2 separate regions of the Homo sapiens genome follow, and region 1 is linked to region 2. Evidence: promoter capture Hi-C in human tissues and cell types (Jung and others, 2019). All regions are on one chromosome and are shown on one strand. Each heading gives the region's core, a stretch centred on a gene start or on the middle of the fragment in contact. The rest is flanking DNA. Distances are from core to core; before and after follow the strand shown. Region 1 overlaps BRIP1 (BRCA1 interacting DNA helicase 1). Region 2 holds the start of NACA2 (nascent polypeptide associated complex subunit alpha 2).

The links. Contacts are between HindIII fragments. The study calls those that stand out against the background at their distance.
Region 1: a fragment that was not itself captured here is called in contact with the fragment with the promoter of NACA2 in region 2 in 3 of the 25 tissues and cell types used here (aorta, dorsolateral prefrontal cortex and mesenchymal stem cells).

What each region holds. Positions count from the first base shown.
Region 1 is chr17:61,799,542-61,804,740 of GRCh38, forward strand. It overlaps BRIP1 (BRCA1 interacting DNA helicase 1), which reads right to left. Exons shown (of 20, transcript NM_032043.3): 8 at 1,712-1,933. Among named protein-coding and RNA genes, the nearest start is that of BRIP1, 61 kb to the right of the region's middle. The HindIII fragment of the contact is 4,813 bases long and covers 1-3,867 here.
Region 2 is chr17:61,589,195-61,594,976 of GRCh38, forward strand. NACA2 (nascent polypeptide associated complex subunit alpha 2) reads right to left here and starts at 2,025. Exons shown (of 1, transcript NM_199290.4): 1 at 1,227-2,025. The coding sequence starts at 1,986. The coding sequence ends at 1,339. The HindIII fragment of the contact is 8,743 bases long and covers 1-5,782 here.

The DNA.
Region 1 (5,199 bases), core at 211-2,710, 210 kb after region 2:
AACAAAAATATGTCAGTGAGTCTGGATCAAGGTACCACAGGCTACACAGAAAGGTATAAAATCCCACTATGAAAGTGTTTCCAACATAATTTTACAAACTAATTATAAGACCTTTAAAAATAAAATAACAATATAAGATTAAAAGCATAAGACCTTTAAAAGTAAAATAACAATACAAGATTAAAAGCATAAAACCTTTAAAAGTAAAATAACAATACAAGATTAAAATGACTCTTAAAATACTAACATAATATATATGTTTTGTTTTAATCTGTCCTGCAATCCTTCTCCAACATGGGAGTTGGAGAATTGTTCTTCTCCAACTCCCATGTGATGCTGGCAGGACTATTAACCTGTGAATCAAAGGACATCACCACTTTCACAATGGGGGTAAGGCCCAGGATTGTCAGTTAAATAGAGTATTCCATCCTTCTGTGGTCACAGTGACTGGTTCAGGTTCAGGAACAGACATGTGATCCACGGTAGGCCAACCAGAGTAATTTGGAGGGACTAATATGTGGCCATGCTCTTTTCTCCAGGTGAGCTAGCTGCTTATGGTTATCTTTGTTCCATAAGCAAGAGTGAGAACTTGCCTGAGAATAAAGCCATCACAATAAAGAGAATCAAGTATTTTTTCTTAAGCATTTTTTAGGGTAGGTTTGTGTCACTTGCAATAGAAAGAGTACTGACTAATACAAGGAACTGTCACAAAGCAATTGTCAATGAGTTATTTTGAGGAAGTAAGAATACACAGACAGCTGAAAAGTTGAGAAAAAACCATGGAAGAGTAGGAAATATATTGGGGTTTAAAAGATAAGTAGGATTTGGATTTGGACAGACAAAGAGTGGACAGGGCATTCCAAAGAGGTGTCATCAAAAGCAAAGATAGAGTAAAGAACAAGGTATCCTCAAGGGAGTATGAGGTAATTTTTGAAGGATTCAAATTGGGCAGATCCAGGTCAGACTATTGAGCATCTTGAGTGTAAGCTTAAGAAATATGAACTTTATCTCATGAGCAAAGGAAGCAATAGATTTTTAGGCAGATAAAAGGATGTAATAAAAGCAATATTTGGAAAACTGACCTGGCATTGATATGCACAGTGTCTCAGAAGGAAGAGATCTAGTTAAGAGATAACCAAATAAGAGGTAGGATAGAAGGGGTAGTAAACATAATGCCTATTAATTTGGATCTTAAAGAAATAGAAAGCTGAGATGAATTGTGCAGTCAGATCTGAAGACAGGAATAACAATTGACTATGCCAAATTATTCACTTTTTGTCTTATGCTGTTAACAATTGCATGTCTCTAAAAAGAACCAGGCAAACAAACACAAATGCCATTATCTGAAGTTCACTTCTCAAAGCTCACAAGGCATAATTTTATTCCCCCACATAAGTTCTTCAAAACATAGTTTTTTCAGAGAAATGTTTCTAAATAATTCTTTTTGAATATTCATAAATGCAAAGAGAAATCCTGCTGTAATCCCACTTCAGTCACTATGTTCCTTAAAACTGCTTGTTATTTTGGAAATTAAAATGAGTGGGTTGATTTTAACCCATGTTAGGATATGTTTTCAGTACTCTAATATGTTTACACAAATTTATTTACATAAATTAAAGCAAAAAAAATTAAAACATCTAAAAGCTTTTACATTCAACATTTACATCTCCATGAGTAGGAAGAAGGTTCTCATTTTTACACATATACTCACACTTTCCCTTATTTGTGCATCTAGAAGATAGTTGTAGGGACAAAATATGATGTCAGCATCTTGTATTAGTTCTCGGGCTGTGTAATATGGACAGGCCTTTAGTTTCTTCCCCAGGCTGACAAGTTCTTCTATATCCCAGGCTTTGCACATCCCTTGGAAAGTCTGTAATGTGTGCTGATCACTAATTTTATGAACTCCATGATAAAAATAGCAGGATTTTCCCTAGAAACAAATATGCATAACTGAAATGTGAACCAATATTAGCATAGAAGGAATAAAATAAGCTTATCTCAGAATTTGAGGAACATCATTAAAGCCACAAGGCTAAGATTTTACTGGCTACGCCACCACACCTGGCTAATTTTTTGTCTTTTTTGAGACAATACCATAGCTACAATCACAACGAAGTCTGGTTGACTCAGACTTAGATAGAAGTCCAAATCGGAAGAGCTCCAAATACCCTAAATTAACTTGAAAAAAATTTCTTTTAAATATGTTTGTTATGCCTTTTTTTTTCTGATTAAACTGATGTTAGGCATGAAATACTTCTGAAAGGATTCACAAAACAATGGTATCACTGGTTGCTTCCAAGGATGAGAATTAAGTGACTGGGCACAGGAGTGAGAGATTTTTCTCTGTAGACCCTTTTGTACCTTTTCAACTTTGAGCCATGTGATAGTATTTCTTATTCAAATATAAATAAGAAGGAAGGAAGGTAAGTAGGTAGGTTGGAATGTCCTAAGGGGAAAAAAAGAAAGTAAGAGTATTCACTACAAAATATTCAGGAGTACCAAAAAAAGCCTAAATTATCCATAATTCTATTACACAAAGAATGCACTAGAAACATTTTGGTGTATTTCATTTCATATTTCTTCTATACATGTGTATATAAGGATATCTCTACAATGTGACCCAATATTAAAATAACAAGAACAAGCAAGGCACGATGACAGGTGTGAGCACTTTGGGAGGCTTAGGCAAAAGGACTGTTTTAGGTGAGGAGTTTGATACCAGCCTGGGCAATGTAGCAAAACCCTGTCTCTACAAAAAATAAAAAATTTTCTAGGATTGGTGGCGTACATCAATGGTCCTAGCTACTCAGGAAGCTGAGGCAGGAGGATCACTTCAGCCCAGGAGTTCGAGGATGCAGTGAGCCATGATCAAGCCACTGCACTCCGGCCTGGATGACAAAACAAAGCCCTATCTCTAAATAGTAATAAAAACAAGAACAAAGCAAATGTTCCCCAGGCATTGAGGATTATTAACAATTCAGCCACAATAAACAAAAATTTTTATAAAGCATATTCCCTTTGTTTTCTTCTGTCTAGCGTATTAAAAATCATACAAGGAAAATCTTGACATCACTAAGCATCTTTTCGTTGCTGCTCATATATGTACATTGAATTAATGTGCCATAGCTGATGAACCAGTTTTCTTATTACTGGGCTTATAGACTGTTACCAATTTCTGCTTTAGACATAAGGCTGCAGTGAGCATTCTTATGCTGGTTTCTAAATATTTTCTTAGTCTATATTTTTAGAAATGGCATTATGGGATCAGACGCTACAAGGTATTTTTAAGTTTCTTGAAAACATATAGTGAAATTATCCTCCAGAAAGTATATATTGCTTTGCATTACCCTTTTCCCACATCCTTATCAACACTGGTGTTATCTTTTGTTATCTCTATCTTAAAAGTAAAAAATAGAATCTTGTTTTGATTTGTATTTTTTATAGTTTCTAGCAAAGTTTAACATAGTGTTGTATGAATAGTCTAACAAGGTTCAATAGTAATTTGTGTTTCTTCTTTTATGTTATCTACTAATGCCCTTTGCCATTCTATTACCTTTTTTTTTTTCAGAGATGGGAGTCTCACTCTGTCACCTGGGGTGCAGTGGCACGATCCAATCTTGGTTCACTGCAACCTCCGCCTCCCAGGTTCAAGCAATTCTTGTGCCTCAGCCACCAAGTAGCTGGAACCACAAGTGCATCACCACATATGGCTCCTTTTTTGTAGAGACAGGGTTTTGTCATGTTGCTCAGGCTGGTCTTGAACTCCTGAACTCAAGCGATCCGCCTGCCTCGGCCTCCCAAAGTGCTGGGGATTACAGGCATGAGCCACTGCACTCCACCCCATTCTATCACTGGAAATAAAAAAATTTCATTACAGGCTGGGCACAGTGGCTCATGCCTATAATCCCAACATTTTGAGAGGCCAAGGCCGGAGGACTGCATGAGCCTAGGAGTTCAAGACCAGCTGGGCAGCACAGGGAGACTCAATCTCTACAAAAAAACAAAAAAAATTAAACCGCAGTGAGCAGTGACCACGCCACTGCACTCCAGCCTGGGCAACAGAGTGAGATCCTGTCTCAAAAAAAAATACTCATTATGTGCATTAATAAAAAAATAAAATGTTTGATAAAACCCAGCCCTAACAAGTGTCTCATATACTATTAAAAATGTACAAAATTAGAAAAGTATATATATTTTTAGTAGAAGTATAAAATTCTAGTAGTAGAAGTACATAGGCAATTTGTCAAAAAACTACCAAAATTTAAAATTTTACCATTAATGTGAATAGATGTACCCTGTACTGTTAAATAGCCAAAAAATTGAAAATTAACCAAATGTCTACCCATAAGGGACATGTTAAATAAATTATGGTAAATTAATACAAAAACTTTAGCCCTTAAAAATGATTTAGATTTGTCTATGTGTTGATTAGGCTCTCTATGTTAAGTGAGAAAAACATGTTGAATAACGTGTATAGAATGATTAAATTCATGTAAATTGCTTTTTTAAAGAATATGTGCACATACATTATAGCAAATACATTTTTTAAACATTCTGGTAGAATAGATATATAAAATCTTACAGTAGTTACCTTAAAGGATTAAGGAGATGGAGGATCTAGAAAAAGCCTCTCTTTTCATTTTCTAACCACATACATGTACTACTTCTCTTTTTCAATTGTCATTGGAACTAAGTGGTAGAATAATGGGCCACTTTTATTTTAATTAATTCTACTATTTATTTTAAAACGATTTTGAAATAAAAATATTTATTTTTCCTAGTTTGCTATCCTTAACAAAAAACAACCATACATAAAATATATAAATTATATCAGGGATAAAAGACTTTGAGGCAGCTATATACATATGTGTGTGTGTGTGTGTGTGTGTGTGTGTGTGTGTGTATGTGTGTGTACATACACATACATATATACATATGGGTTCAAGCACTTCTCATGCCTCAGCCTCCCAAGTAGCTGGGATTACAAGCACGCATCACCATGCCCAGCTAATTTTTTGTATTTTTAGTAGAGACAGGTTTTGCCATGTTGGCCAGGCCAGTCTTGAACTCCTGACCTCAAGTGCCCACCTCAGCCTCCCAGAGTGCTGGCATTACAGGCATGAGCATCATGCCCGGCCAATGTATTTTTTACAAATACATAATAATTTCCCCATATATATATATTCAAAATATTTT
Region 2 (5,782 bases), core at 775-3,274:
AGTGAGTTTGCTGAGGGCAACTCTCCTCTGCACAGCAAGTTGTATTTAATAGTATATTTGATTTTAAAACTATTCATCCAACAAACAATTATTGAGGGCTAGCTATTGTCAATTTGTTCTTTCATTCATTTGCTTAACAATTATTTACTGAGTCCCTATTACTCTATAGGAACTGGGCTAGGAACCCAGCAGTGAATAGGAAAGACATGGCCACTATTCTTGCAGAGACTTCATCCAATTAAGAAGACAAATACTAAACAGCAAAGAGAGGCGTAATGAGAACATATTTCAGAGAGACCTAAGCTAGTCTAGGGATTAGGGTAAACTTTCCTGAGGAAATGATTTTGAAGCCGAGATTTGAAAGATGACTAGGAATGTTCCAGGTAGAGGGAACAGCATGTGTAAACGCTTGAGGGCAAGGGAGTGTGATGTTGCAGGAACTGAAAGACGTTCAGTATGACCAGAGCATTTAGGGGAATAGCAGAAAACTGTCAGAGGCCAGACCATACAAGGCCTAATAAGCCACATGAAGAGTTCAGACTATTTCAGTTGCTCATACACTAAAGAAGGGATATGCAACTCTGGTTGCAGAATGGATCGGACAGAAGAGAGACTGGAGGTAGAGAGACGGTTTAGTAGGTTATTAGGAAAATCTGGGAGAGGATGATGGCAGTAGAGACACAGAGAGGTGCATGAATCTGAGAAATGCTCAGGAGGCAGTAGCAATAGGACTTGAAGATTTACTGGGTGCCAGAGATTTTAAAGGATAGGGAAGAGCTAAGGATGAGTATCGAGTAGCTGGTTTGGGAATGAAGGGTATGATGGTGACTTTCACTGAGCTGGGGACACTGGAGAAGGAGCTCTAGTCATCCGGTAGAGGAGAGATGATGAGTATACTTCTGGCTATCCTGTGATTGAGGTGCCGGGAGAGTATCCAAGGAAAGACGGTAAGTAGGTGGCTGGATATCCAAATCTGTGTCTTAGGACAAAGATGGGACTGAAACTATTTGAGGATCATCAGCAAGAGAAATGAATCTGATCACCTATGTTGAGTGTGCAGAGTGAAAAGAACACAAGGCCTTGGAAAGACCCCTGAGATGCACTAATATTTAAGAACTGGGTAGAAGAAAAGATGACCACAAAGGAAACTGAAGAATAAGCCAGGGAAGAAGGTAGATCCGGAGAGTACGGCACTTGGAGACCAAAAAAAGAGAGCATTTCTTTTCTTTTCTTTTTCCAGCAAGAAGTCATAACTTTATTTATGATAGAAACAGTACAAATTTCAAACCAAGCTGCAGTTACTCCTTTGAGACACCAAAAAAAGTTGCTTTCAGATGGTTACACTGTTAATTCCATAATCGCATTTACAATATCATTACTGTTGTTCTTCAGAGCTCGGACTGCCTTTGCTCTCGACACATTTGCTTGTGACATGACCAATTTCACGTCTTTAACTTCTACACCTGTTTCATCGACCTCTTCCTCTTCACTCTCCTCTTGTACAGTTGGAGTCTGTGTGTTTTCTTGAATGTTTCCGACAGCTTCACCTTGAACTCTGAATTTCTCCGCAGCTGCTAGTTGTGCTTGCTGAGATAAATCTTGGATCTTGGCTTCCCCAAAAACTATGTAGGCATCCGAAGCAGGGCTCTTGTAGACGTCCAGTTTTGTGATGACAAAGAGGATATTCTTAGATTTCCAGATAGTGACTCTAGTAACTCCTGTAACCTGTAGAAGACCCAGTTTGGACATAGCCTTCCGTGCCCTCTTTTCACTCCGACTCTGTTTTGCTTTACCGACTGGTTCTTCATCAATTTCAGCTGCTGCCACCAGCCAGGCTTTTTGTGTGGTGGTCTGGGTGGAATCCTGTTCTTCAATCCCTGGTACTGATTCACCACTATCAGATGCTGTTCCAGACCCTGTCTCAGCCTGGGACTGCGGCAACTCCTGCTCTGTAGCAGGGACGGTTTCTGTGGCTTCGCCCGGCATTTTGTGCAGGGAACGCGGAAGCAAGATGGCGGCAGAAAGAGCGCGAGCGAGAGCGTGACCCACGCTTGTTGCAGCGGGAAGCAAAAAGAGAGCATTTAAAAAGACATTTGTCAGCAGTGCTACACTGCCATGAGGTCAAGTTGGAATGGAAAAGGATCTATTGGATTTAGAGACTGTAAGTTACGCGGTCTGAGTGGTGCGGTGTGAGTGGCACTTGGGAATTGGTTAATGGTCAGTTCCTTGAAAAAATGACTAAATTGGGGAATCATTTTTTAAAATTTACATTATTTAACATGCTGTTTTAACTGAAAACATATCACTGTACTTTTATTTGCCAATCTTTTGATAGGAGCCGTAAACCTTTCTTTGAGTATTATCTGTTTATTGGAATTCAGCCTCGGTTTTCTCACATAAATCATATCTATAAAGGTATTGTCTATCATTCCCTGTTTTAGTTTATTTAAAATAGACCAAGAACTCAAAGGTGCTCATGAAGCAATCTGAACGCAGAATCCTAGATATGTATGGTTTCCCTCGATCTTTTCTTGCTCCCCCAATGAATGGAAAATTGTAAATGTTTCCAAACCATTCAATTTAATTTGCACAGAAACAACTATTTTATTTTTTCTATTTATATTTCATATAACAGTTATATAATGAGTTTACGTAATAATCAGTTAAATTACATAATTATAGTAATAAGAATACCCAGCATAAATAGGTTAAATAAACACAACTGATTCTTGGTAAGCCTATAACTGTATAGAGAAAACAAAAAATCCATAGAAAAGAAAACCAAAAAACAAAAATCCGCGTATGTACTAGGCAGTAGCACGTTAGCTATAGAGTGTGCCGTTGGCTTCCACCAATATGTTTCACGAAGGCAACAGAGAGTATCAGTCAATTTGCATTATGTTGGCTAAATATACGTTAAGAGAGTTTTTGCTTTAGTTACAGGGGATGACTCAGAAGGCAGTTAGATTGCAGTGGGCTGAGAAGTAGGAATTGAAGAAATGGAAAGATTGGATTAGATCAGAGTACTCTTATAAGAAGTTTAACTGTGCGGGAGGAGACAGTGCAGTAGCTGAAGACATAATTATAGTTGGCGGATAGGTAAACACATATTCTTCCTAAGAAGAGACCTGAGCATGTTTAAATTCTAAAAGGAGTAGTTAAATACAAATGAAAGAGGGAAGTTGATCAGTCAAGGTTCTGAGGAGCCAGGAATGAAATCCATGGCACAAGTAGAACGACTAATCTTGAATAGCAGGAAAGGCATCCTTTTCATTGTAATAGGAGGAAAGAAGAAAAATATGGATTTGGGTGCAAGCAGATTTTTAGGTTTGGTAGCACGATGTCAAAGGAGTTCCCATCTGGTAACATTTATTTTTTTTTTTTTCTAAGAGGCTAGAGGAGCTGTCTGCTGAGAGTGAGGGGAAGGCAAGAGAGTTAAAGGTTTATGTATGATGGAAAAGATTTGGAATAGGTGCTGCATAGAAGGAAGAAAATGATCACTAAAGAAGCACAATAGGGTAGTAATTCAGTATTGAGGTCCTAGCTGAGATAGGCAAATACTGTGCTATATGCTGGGTTGAGCAGGTTAAATGGGAGGAACATGCAAAGATAGGTAAGACACAGTTTCTGTTCATCAAATGAGAAAGAGAGACATATAAACAAACCACTTAAAAAGAACAGAAGATATAAATTGTGGCATATTGTGAAAATTAGTAAACTAGGTTGCACACAACCACATTAATAAATCTTAGAAAACTTAATATTGGCCGGGCGTGGTGGCTCACGCCTGTAATCCCAGCACTTTGGGAGGCCAAGGCAAGAGGATCACAAGGTCAGGAATTTGAGACCAGCCTGACCAACGTGGTGAAACCCCACCTCTACTAAAAAAATACAAAAATTAGCCGAGTGTGGTGGCATGCCTGTAATCCCAGCTACTCAAGAGGCTAAGGCAGGATAATTGCTTGAACCCGGGAGGTAGAGGTTGAAGTGAGCCGAGATCACGCCACTGCACCCCAGCCTGGGCGACAGAGCAAGACTCTGTCTCGAAAAAAAAAAAGAGAGAAAGAAAAAGTGAGAATGATTATCATAAAAGTCAGATCATGATTACCTCTAGGAGAAAAGAGAGGAGTGTGATCAGAAAGGGACATAAAGAGGACTTTTGGGGTGCTAGTGATGTTCTAGTTTTTGACCTGGATAATGGTGTATTTAGTTGCAGCTCAATCAGGGAAGAAGAACCTCTTTGGGTCATAGGATAAGGGATTTATTATAGGAATTAGACCTTACACGACTGTGGGAGGAGCTGGGGAAGTAACGTCTCAAGAGGAAGTTGGAGGACCAGTGGAGTCACCAACTGATCCAGCTGAGAAACCAAGCGCATCCAGCTGCCAAAATGAGACTGCACAGATTCCTTTGGCTGCCGAAGGAGTCTGTGGGAAGCTGTTGCTTCTTTGGGTCTGCAGCCAAACATCTGGTCATGAGCCTGGGACCGCTGTTGGGGAGGAGAGTTGCGTGTGGCACAGGGAAGAGCAAGGACACCTGGACCCTGTGAGACCTCTGCGTCTCTCTGTATCCACACCCACCACAGCAACTTGCAGAGAGAAGGGCTGCTGCTTCACCTCTGTCTCCCAGATCTCACACAGGCTGCTTTTTTGGCCATGCACAGAAGGGGACTCTGGGAAACACAGTTCCCAGGTTAATCAATTTGAAATAAAATGATCCAGCGCAGGTGGTTAAATGAGTTTGACTTTGTAATTATCCATGAAAATGTGCATTTACAGTTCTGACATTATTATAATTTATAAAAAGACTTTCAGTTAATCAATCAGTAAAAGAACAGGCATGGCATTTCAGGGGCCATGTATGATATGTTCCCATAGTGTTACTAGAGTATGTTTTTAAAAAGTGCTATGAAGCTAAAGAGACAGCTCTGCCTGGGGGCATCAGGAAAGTTTTCATAGAAAAGGAGACATTTCAACATAGTAATAAAAATAGCTACCATTTATTGACCACTTACTATGTATCAGACATTATAATATGCTCGTACTTCATATAATTTTTACAACAATCCTATTAGCTAGACATTATACTTCCAATTTTTCAGATAAAGAAACTGAGGTCCAGATAAATAAATTAACTTGCCCAATCTAACAAGAAACAGATCAGAAATTTGAAATACCTCTAGTTTACTCCAACCACGCGGAGCACTACTTCCATTTGAGTCTCTTTTTTTTTTTTTTTGAGACAGAATCTCACTCTGTCACCCAGGCTGGAGTGCGGTGGTGCCATTATGACTCACTGCAGCCTTGACTTCTCAGGCTTAAGCAATCCTCTCACCTCAGCCTCTCAAGCAGCTAGGACTACCAGCCCTTGCCACCATGCCCAATTAATGTTTTGTATTTTGTTTTTGTAGAGATGGGGTCCCACTGTGTTACCCAGGCTGGTCTTGAACTCCTGGGCTCAAGCGATCCTCCCGCTTTGGCCTCCTAAAGTGCTGGGGTTACAAGCATGAGCCACTGGGCCTGGCCAGGCTTTTTAAAATACCATCTTTTCTTACCCAGTCTTCCATTTGAGTCTTCACAGGTAATAATATACCTGGCAGGCAGAAGGAACAGCATGAGCAAAGAATTGGCAACATGAATGAGTGTGGTTTGCTTGCGGAAGATTAAGAAGGTTGATGAATGTGTGTGTAGGAGATGGTGAAAAAGGTGAAAGATAAGCTATAAAATTTATTGAAGATTTTTTATGCCATGATAAAGTGTTTCCAACTTACCCTCTAGTCAAA